2 separate regions of the Homo sapiens genome follow, and region 2 is linked to region 1. The links are contacts of gene promoters, found by promoter capture Hi-C in human tissues and cell types (Jung and others, 2019). All regions are on one chromosome and are shown on one strand. Each heading gives the region's core, a stretch centred on a gene start or on the middle of the fragment in contact. The rest is flanking DNA. Distances are from core to core; before and after follow the strand shown.

The links. Contacts are between HindIII fragments. The study calls those that stand out against the background at their distance.
Region 2: a fragment that was not itself captured here is called in contact with the fragment with the promoter of LGALS4 in region 1 in 1 of the 25 tissues and cell types used here (pancreas).

Annotation. Positions count from the first base shown.
Region 1 is chr19:38,811,695-38,815,437 of GRCh38, reverse strand. It overlaps LGALS4 (galectin 4), which reads left to right and starts at 2,493. Exons shown (of 10, transcript NM_006149.4): 1 at 2,493-2,596; 2 at 2,919-3,007. The coding sequence starts at 2,552. ECH1 (enoyl-CoA hydratase 1) reads left to right here. Exons shown (of 10, transcript NM_001398.3): 10 at 1-16. The HindIII fragment of the contact is 29,723 bases long and covers 1-3,743 here.
Region 2 is chr19:38,269,123-38,273,105 of GRCh38, reverse strand. The region is part of intron 1 of SPINT2 (serine peptidase inhibitor, Kunitz type 2); the gene reads right to left. Among named protein-coding and RNA genes, the nearest start is that of SPINT2, 6.5 kb to the right of the region's middle. The HindIII fragment of the contact is 5,415 bases long and covers 1-3,983 here.

The sequences.
Region 1 (3,743 bases), core at 1,244-3,743:
AAAGCAAAGTAAAGAACCTGGTGCCCTTCTTGGATAGAGGAGAGGTGGGAGGGGCTGGGATGCACCTAGGGGCTCCAGAGACTGCAGTCCTGAAGGCTGGGGCTAGAGGTTGGATGCATGGGAATGGGTGGCATGGAGGTGATGGCCATTCAGACTGGCAGCGGGCAGGCGAGGGGCACAAGGAATTCCGGGGCGGAGGGAGTGAGCAAAAGTCGCTGGGGTCCCTCTGGGTTGCAAGGCTTCCTGGTCTCCCTGCCTGCCCTGGGGTTGAGGGTGGCGTTCGTGCCCTGCCTGGCACCTCTCACTGCACAGCACATGGGATCTGATGCTGGCGTCTCACACCTGTAATCCCAGCACTTTTGGAGGCTGACGCAGGTGGATTGCCTGAGCTCAGGAGTTTGCAACCAGCCTAGTCAACATGTTGAAACCCAGTCTCTACTAAAAATACAAAAATTAGCTAGGTGTGGTGGCAGGTGCCTCTAGTCCCAGCTACTCGGGAGGCTGAGGCAGGAGAATCCTTGAACCCAGGAGGTGAGTTTGCAGTGAGCTGAGATCATGCTGCTGCAGTCCAGCCTGGGTGACAGAGTGAGACTCTGTCTCAAAAAAAGAAAAAACAAAACAAAAAAGGACTTTGGGGTTTCTGGCCGGGTGCAGTGGCTCATGCCTGTAATTCCAGCACTTTGGGAGGTTGAGGCAGGTGGATCACTTGAGGTCAGGAGTTTGAGACCAGCCTGGCCAACATGGCAAAACCTGGTCTCTACTAAAAATACAAAAATTAGCCAGGCGTGGAGTAAGCCTGTAATCCCAGCTATTCAGAAGGCTGAGGCAGGAGAATCCCTTGAACCTGGGAGGTGGAGGTTGCAGTGAGCTGAGATGGTGCCACTGCACTGCAGCCTGGGTGATAGAGCAAGACTCTGTCTCAAAAATGAGCAAACAAAACTTTGGGATTTTTTATCCATATATCATCCCAATCTTCCGGATTTATGTTTGGAATGACTGCAAGAGACCAAGCATTAAGTTAATGACTTCTATATGCTATGTCCTGTTCTGAGCATTTATTATCTTAATGATCAAGGACTCTATGAAGTTGATACTATTATGATTATTATTATTATGACTATTATTGTTGCTATTTTTAGAGACGGACTCTTAGTCTGTCACCCAGGCTGGAGTGCAGTGGCATGATCATAGCTCACTGTAACCTTAACTCCTGGGTTCAAGCGATCCTCCTGCCTCAGCCTCTGAGTAGCTAGGAATACAGATGTGTGCTACCATGCCCAGCTAATTTTTATTTTATTTTTGTAGAGATGGGGGTCTCACTATGTTGCCCAGGCTGGTCTTGAACTCCTGGGCTCAAGCAGTCCTCCTGCTTCAGCTTCCCAAATTGCTGGGATTGTAGGCACAAGCCACCACACCCAGCCTAAGGTTGATACTACTCTTTTCTTTATTTATTTATTTTTCTGAGTGGCAGTTGGACCCACAGCTAGAACTTATTTGGCAGATTAATAACATACAGGCATTACTGGATCACAAATTCATTTTTAAAATATTTTGATAGCTATTCAATACTTGTTTCCTCTCTTATGAATTCCTTTTTTTTTTTTTTTTTTTTTGAAACAGAGTCTCCATCTGTCATCCAAGCTGGAGTGCAGTGGCGTGACCTTGGCTCACTGCACTCTCCTCCACTCAGGTTCAAGTGATTCTCCTGCCTCAGCCTCCAAGTAGATGGGATTATAGGCACCCACCACCATGCCTGGCTAATTTTTGTATTTTTAGTAGAGACTGGGATTTTGCCAGGCTGGTCTCGAACTCCTGCCCTCAGGTGATCCATCCACCTCGGCCAGTCAAAGTGCTGGGATTACAGGCATGAGCCACTGCACCCAGCCGATACTACTATATCCCCATTTTACAGATGAGCACATGGGCAAATTGAGGGTAAGGCACTGACCCATGATCATACAGCTGAGAAGTGGCAAAGGCAGGATTTGAACCTAGAACCTCTGGCTCCACACACTAGTAATCTAAACCACTCTCCCTACAATACAACATACGTGGTAAAGATGTGTGGTGGGCACGCAATCAACGTAGGTCCCTTCACAGTTGCTGGGAGAGGCAGGAATTTGCAGTTCCTCCGCGTTCTCCTCCTCCGCTGCCCACCTGTCCTGGGTCATTCCTGCAGCCTGCCCTGCCCTGCCTGGTCTCACCCTCCCTCTGCCAACAGAAGTCTGGGCAGGGTTTTATGGGCTCTGATAAGGCCCTGGCAGGGCCGAAGTTCATGAGCACTTCCTCTTTGCAGGAGGGCGTAGGGGAGGGGACCCAGGTGATTTGGGTCCTGGCTGGTCACCAGGGAAGCTGGCAAGGGAAGGGAGACTAGGGTGCGCTCTAGGAGAAGCCGACAGCCTGAGAGTCCCAGAAGAGGAGCCCTGTGGACCCTCCCCTGCCAGCCACTCCCTTACCCTGGGTATAAGAGCCACCACCGCCTGCCATCCGCCACCATCTCCCACTCCTGCAGCTCTTCTCACAGGACCAGCCACTAGCGCAGCCTCGAGCGATGGCCTATGTCCCCGCACCGGGCTACCAGCCCACCTACAACCCGGTGAGATGCCAGCTCAGGCCCCACTCCGCCCGCAGCTCCGTCCATAAGCCCTCACACCAATTTTCCCCACTCTGATCCTGGGGGGCCCCATCTGACTCTGTGGTCTGATTTACCCAAAGCTGACCCCGACCCTCGATTTACTCCTACCCTGACCTCAGGCTGTCTGTGTCCACGTCTAACTGTTGGCCCTCGTCATCTTCAACCTGGTCCTCCCCCATGGTTTCCTCTCTCCTGCTTAAGGGACTGGGGGGCTTTTCTGGGAGGGGTAAAGGCTGCAACAGGCAGATGGCTTGTGAGTCCCCTCACCAGGCCTCTTCTCCAGACGCTGCCTTACTACCAGCCCATCCCGGGCGGGCTCAACGTGGGAATGTCTGTTTACATCCAAGGAGTGGCCAGCGAGCACATGAAGCGGTAAGACCCTCCCCAAGCCAGGCCGGGCTGGCAGGGGACTTCCAACTGGGTGCTCTGGGCCTGGCTGTTGGGGGCTTTCTGCCCTTACCCCACCCTGGTGGAGAGGGGACTCTTTTTCTGCCCCACCCAATAGCCAGAGATGAATCTGGGGCAGATCAGGAGTGGGGACGTGGGGGCCAGAAGGTTCAGGGAGGGCTCACCGTGAGAGGCAGTCCCTGAGTTGGACATTAGACTGAAGCTGATGGGTGCAATGGCAGGAATTCAGATCACAGGCTCAGAGCCGGGTCCCCGAGTTAAAATCCCAGCTCTGCCACTCCCCAGCTCTGTGTTGGTGAAAGAGTGAAAGTGACTATACCTCTCTGTGCTTCATTTTCTTTTCTTTTCTGTTTTTGTTTTTTTTGTTTTTTTTTTTGTTTTGAGATGGAGTTTTGCTCTTGTCGCCCAGGCTGGAGTGCAATGGCATGATCTTGGCTCACTGCAACCTCTGTCTCCCAGGTTCAAGCGATTCTCCTGCCTCAGCCTCTTGAGTAGCTGGGATTACAGGCATGTGCCAGCACACTGGCTAATTTTTGTATTTTTAGTAGAGATGGGGTTTCACCATGTTGGTCAGGCTGGTCTCGAACTCCTGACCTCAAGTGATCCTCCCATCTCGGCCTCCCAAAGTGCTGGGATTACAGGCGTGAGCCACTGCGCCTGGCCCAGTCTTAGCTTTTTAAAAAGGGCCTTAACACGTTGA
Region 2 (3,983 bases), core at 1,335-3,834, 540 kb after region 1:
GAGGCTCATAAAATCTTGGTGTTTCAGATATAAAATCTTGGTATTTTCTATATAAAATATTTAGATATAAAAGTTTACATTTCAGGCCGGGCACGGTGGCTCACGCCTGTAACCCCAGCACTCTGGGAGGCTGAGGCAGGTGGATCACCTGAGGTCAGGAGTTCAACACCAGCCTGGCCAACATGGTGAAACCCCGTCTCTACTAAAAATACAAAAAAATGAGCCGGGCGTGGTGGTGCATGCTTGTAATCCCAGTTACTCAGGAGGCTGAGGCAGGAGAATCGCTTGAACCCAGAAGGTGGAGGTTGCAGTGAGCCGAGATCGCACCACTGCACTCCAGAGTCTGGGCGACAGAGACTCCATATCAAAAAATAAAAAATTTACATTTCATAACCTATCAGCACAATGCAACTCATCACTACTCATGCCTACCATCACTCCATATTCCACTCTGAAACAAGACTATTAAGTCTACCCTCGCCTCAATCCATAACAAGAACCCGAGCAGTCCATCTGAATAGCTGGGAAGGAAACAATAGTTTCAAATCTTCTAAGAAACTGTCTGCTGTTAATTCGCATTCAGCCATTCTTTACCTTGTGCAAATCATGGACCATTTTCAGAACTGAGGAAAGCTCTTGGACCCTCTCTCTGGAATGGTGTTTCTCAACCTTTTTTCATTACTACCTTCCCCCTAAGACTTTTTGGAAATGTTTTTCCTAATCGCCCCACAAAATTTTAACACCACAGACATACTATATATCTATTCATGTAGAGCGGCCCTTCAAAAGGTCACAAACTATTATAGTATCTTTTTGTTCCCCCACCCCTTTAAGAACATGCCATACACTCTAAATGACAGACCCTGGCATACACATGGACAAACTATCACATATAAAATTGTTTTGAGATGGGGTCTCGCTCTGTCGCCCAGGCTGGAGTGCAATGGTGCGATCTCGGCTCACTGCAACCTCCACTTCCTGGGCTCAAGCAATTCTCCCACCTCAGCCTCCCACATAGCTGGGACTACAGGCTGACTAGTTTTTTGTATTTTTTGTTTCACCATGTTGAAACTCCTCAGTCAAGCAATCCACCTGCCTCAGCCCCCCAAAGTGCTGGGATTACAAGCGTGAGCCATTGTGCCCAGCAGTATCACATAAAAGTGAAGGACTTCAGATTAAGGGACTTCTGAGGCCATGGACCCTGGGCCCAGTCAGGAATCACCCTGAGCTCCATCTCCAACACGTGTGAGTAAAACAACATGTGAATTCTTGCCCTCTTTTTTTTCTGAGATGGAGTCTCACTCTGTCTCCCAGGCTGGACTGCAGTGGCGTGATCTCGGCTCACTGCAACCTCCACCCTCCGAGTTCAAGCGATTCTCCTGCCTCAGCCTCCAGGCGCCTGCCACTGCACCCGGCTAATTTTTTTTTGTATTTTTAGTAGAGATGGGGTTTCAACATCTTGGCCAGGCTGGTCTTGAACTCCTGATCTCGTGATCCACCCACCTCGGCCTCCCAAAGTGCTGGGATTACAGGCATGAGCCACTGTACCCGGCCAAACATGTGGTGGTCTCTTGTAAGTGGCTCCTCTCACTTAGCATAACATTTTTTTTTTTTTTGAGAGAGTCTTGCTCTGTTGCCCAGGCTGGAGTGCAGTGGCATGATCTCAGCTCACTGCAAGCTCCACTTCCTGGGTTCACGCCATTCTCCTGCCTTAGCCTCCCAGATAGCTGGGACTATAGGCGCCCGCCACCACGCGAGGCTAATTTTTTTGTATTTTTAGTAGAAACGGGTTTTCACCGTGTTAGCCAGGATGGTCTCGATCTCCTGATCTCGTGACCCGCCTGCCTCGGCCTCCCAAAGTGCTGGGGTTACAGGCATGAGCCACCGCGCCCGGCCTCGCCCTCATTTCTAAAATGGCTTCTAATCATAAAAAGCATATTTCAAATAAACTTCAAAATAAGTAAACTCTAGCTCCTACTTCACCTGCCAAGGAAAATAAAACAACAAAAAAAGGTAAATAAACTCCAAAGTTCCTGGGCCTCAGCATCAACATCAGCACTTCTTTACAGGGAGTTTTCAAAAAGATGTTGCCAGAAAAAAACCATGAAATGACACTTGTGAGGAGGATCTTGCAGGACATCGGAATCCACACTCTAATGTCCACATTAGTCATGGCCGGTGGGCCAAGGCCTCCTGGGGCTAATGGAGTCATTTCAGTGTGACTCCTGCTGGGCTCTCTCCCGCCTCACATGAGCCACAGGCTTATCACCCCTTATTCAGCCTCCCCTGTAGCCTCCAGACATGGCAAACAGAAGCTCTGCATGCATTCTGCAAATGGCTGGGGATGGGTAAAATGAGAAACAGGGTGGGGAGCAGGGTGAAAGAGGAGAAGTGTGATTTCTCCATTGCAGGCTGAGCTCTCAAATACTGACTGGGCAAAGCAATGTTTCCAGTGGAAAGGGGCCAGTCTCCCGCGGTGACCTGAAGGCAAGGCCCTCAACCTTCTTTAGGAACTGCAACCATTTGAACCTCAGAAGCCCCCATTTTCAGTGCTAAGCACACCAACCCTGACACTCATCACCAGACATACATTCATCTGTTCATTTATTGTACTGTCTTCCTCTCATTATGACACGTCTGCCACGGATGGGGGAGGGGGTCTATTTTGTTCAGTGCTCTAATTTGAGTGAGTCAGTGCCTGGCAATTGGTGGGTGCTCAATAAACATTTGCTGACTATATCAGTGAATAAGATTTCGAACTACCCTGGAACCAAACTGCCTTGCCTGCAAGTAGGACAAGCACTCCTTCTATGGAGGATAAGAATAATGTGAGAAGCTGTTTTAGAGAATTCCCAGCTGATCGCCAACACCAGCTTTACTTTAGCTCTTCTGTCATCTTATCTCTGACCACCAGGGTCACGACTATCCATGGGGGTGAGGAGGAAAGTAAAGAAAGGGTGGCAACTAATAACACGTCTGTGGAGTCTGCTGGAAAGCTTACAGCAGTTAAGGTTCTACAGACACTATAATTAACCTGAGAGGTCCATGCATTTCGAAAATCCCTTGGAAGTGCAGGAGAGGGCTGGGCCACGTGGCTCGAGCCTGTAATCCCAGCACTTTGAGAGGCTGAGGTGGGCAGATCACCTGAGGTCGGGAGTTCGAGACCAGCCTGGCCCACATGTTGAAATCCCATCTCAGGCCGGGCGCGGTGGCTCACGCCTGTAATCCCAGCACTTTGGGAGGCCGAGGCGGGCAGATCACAAGGTCAGGAGATCAAGACCATCCTGGCTAACACGGTGAAACCCCGTCTCTACTAAAAATACAAAAAATTAGCCGGGCGTGGCGGCAGGTGCCTGTAGTCCCAGTACTCGGGAGGCTGAGGCAGGAGAATGGTGTGAACCCAGGAGGCGGAGCTTGCAGTGAGCCGAGAACGCGCCACTGCACTCCGGCCTGGGCGACAGAGCGAGACACTCCGTCTCAAAAAAAAAAAAAAAAAAAGAAAAGAAATCCCATCTCAACTAAAAATACAAAAATTAGCTGGGTGTGGTGGTGCACACCTGTAACCCCAGCTACTCAGGCGGATGAGGCAGGAGAATCACTTGAACCCAGGAGGCAGAGGCTGCAATGAGCCAAGATGGCGCCACTGCACTCCAGTCTGAGTGACACAGCAAGACTCTGTCTCAAAAAAAAAAAAAAAAAAAAAAAGGTGCAGGAGAGGTTCTCAAATAAGTGTTGCCCTGCTTGCCTCCAGTGGAAATTCCCAAGAAGAATCAACAAAGGACCTTGAACCATCCTGGCTAACACGGTGGTGAGACCCTGTCTCTACTAAAAATACAAAAAATTAGCCGGGCGTGGTGGCGGGCGCCTGTAGTCCCAGCTACTCAGGAGGCTGAAGCAGGAGAATGATGTGAACCCGGGAGGTGGAGATTGCAGTGAGCTGAGATCGCGCTACTGCACTCCAGACTGGGCGATGAGAGAGACTC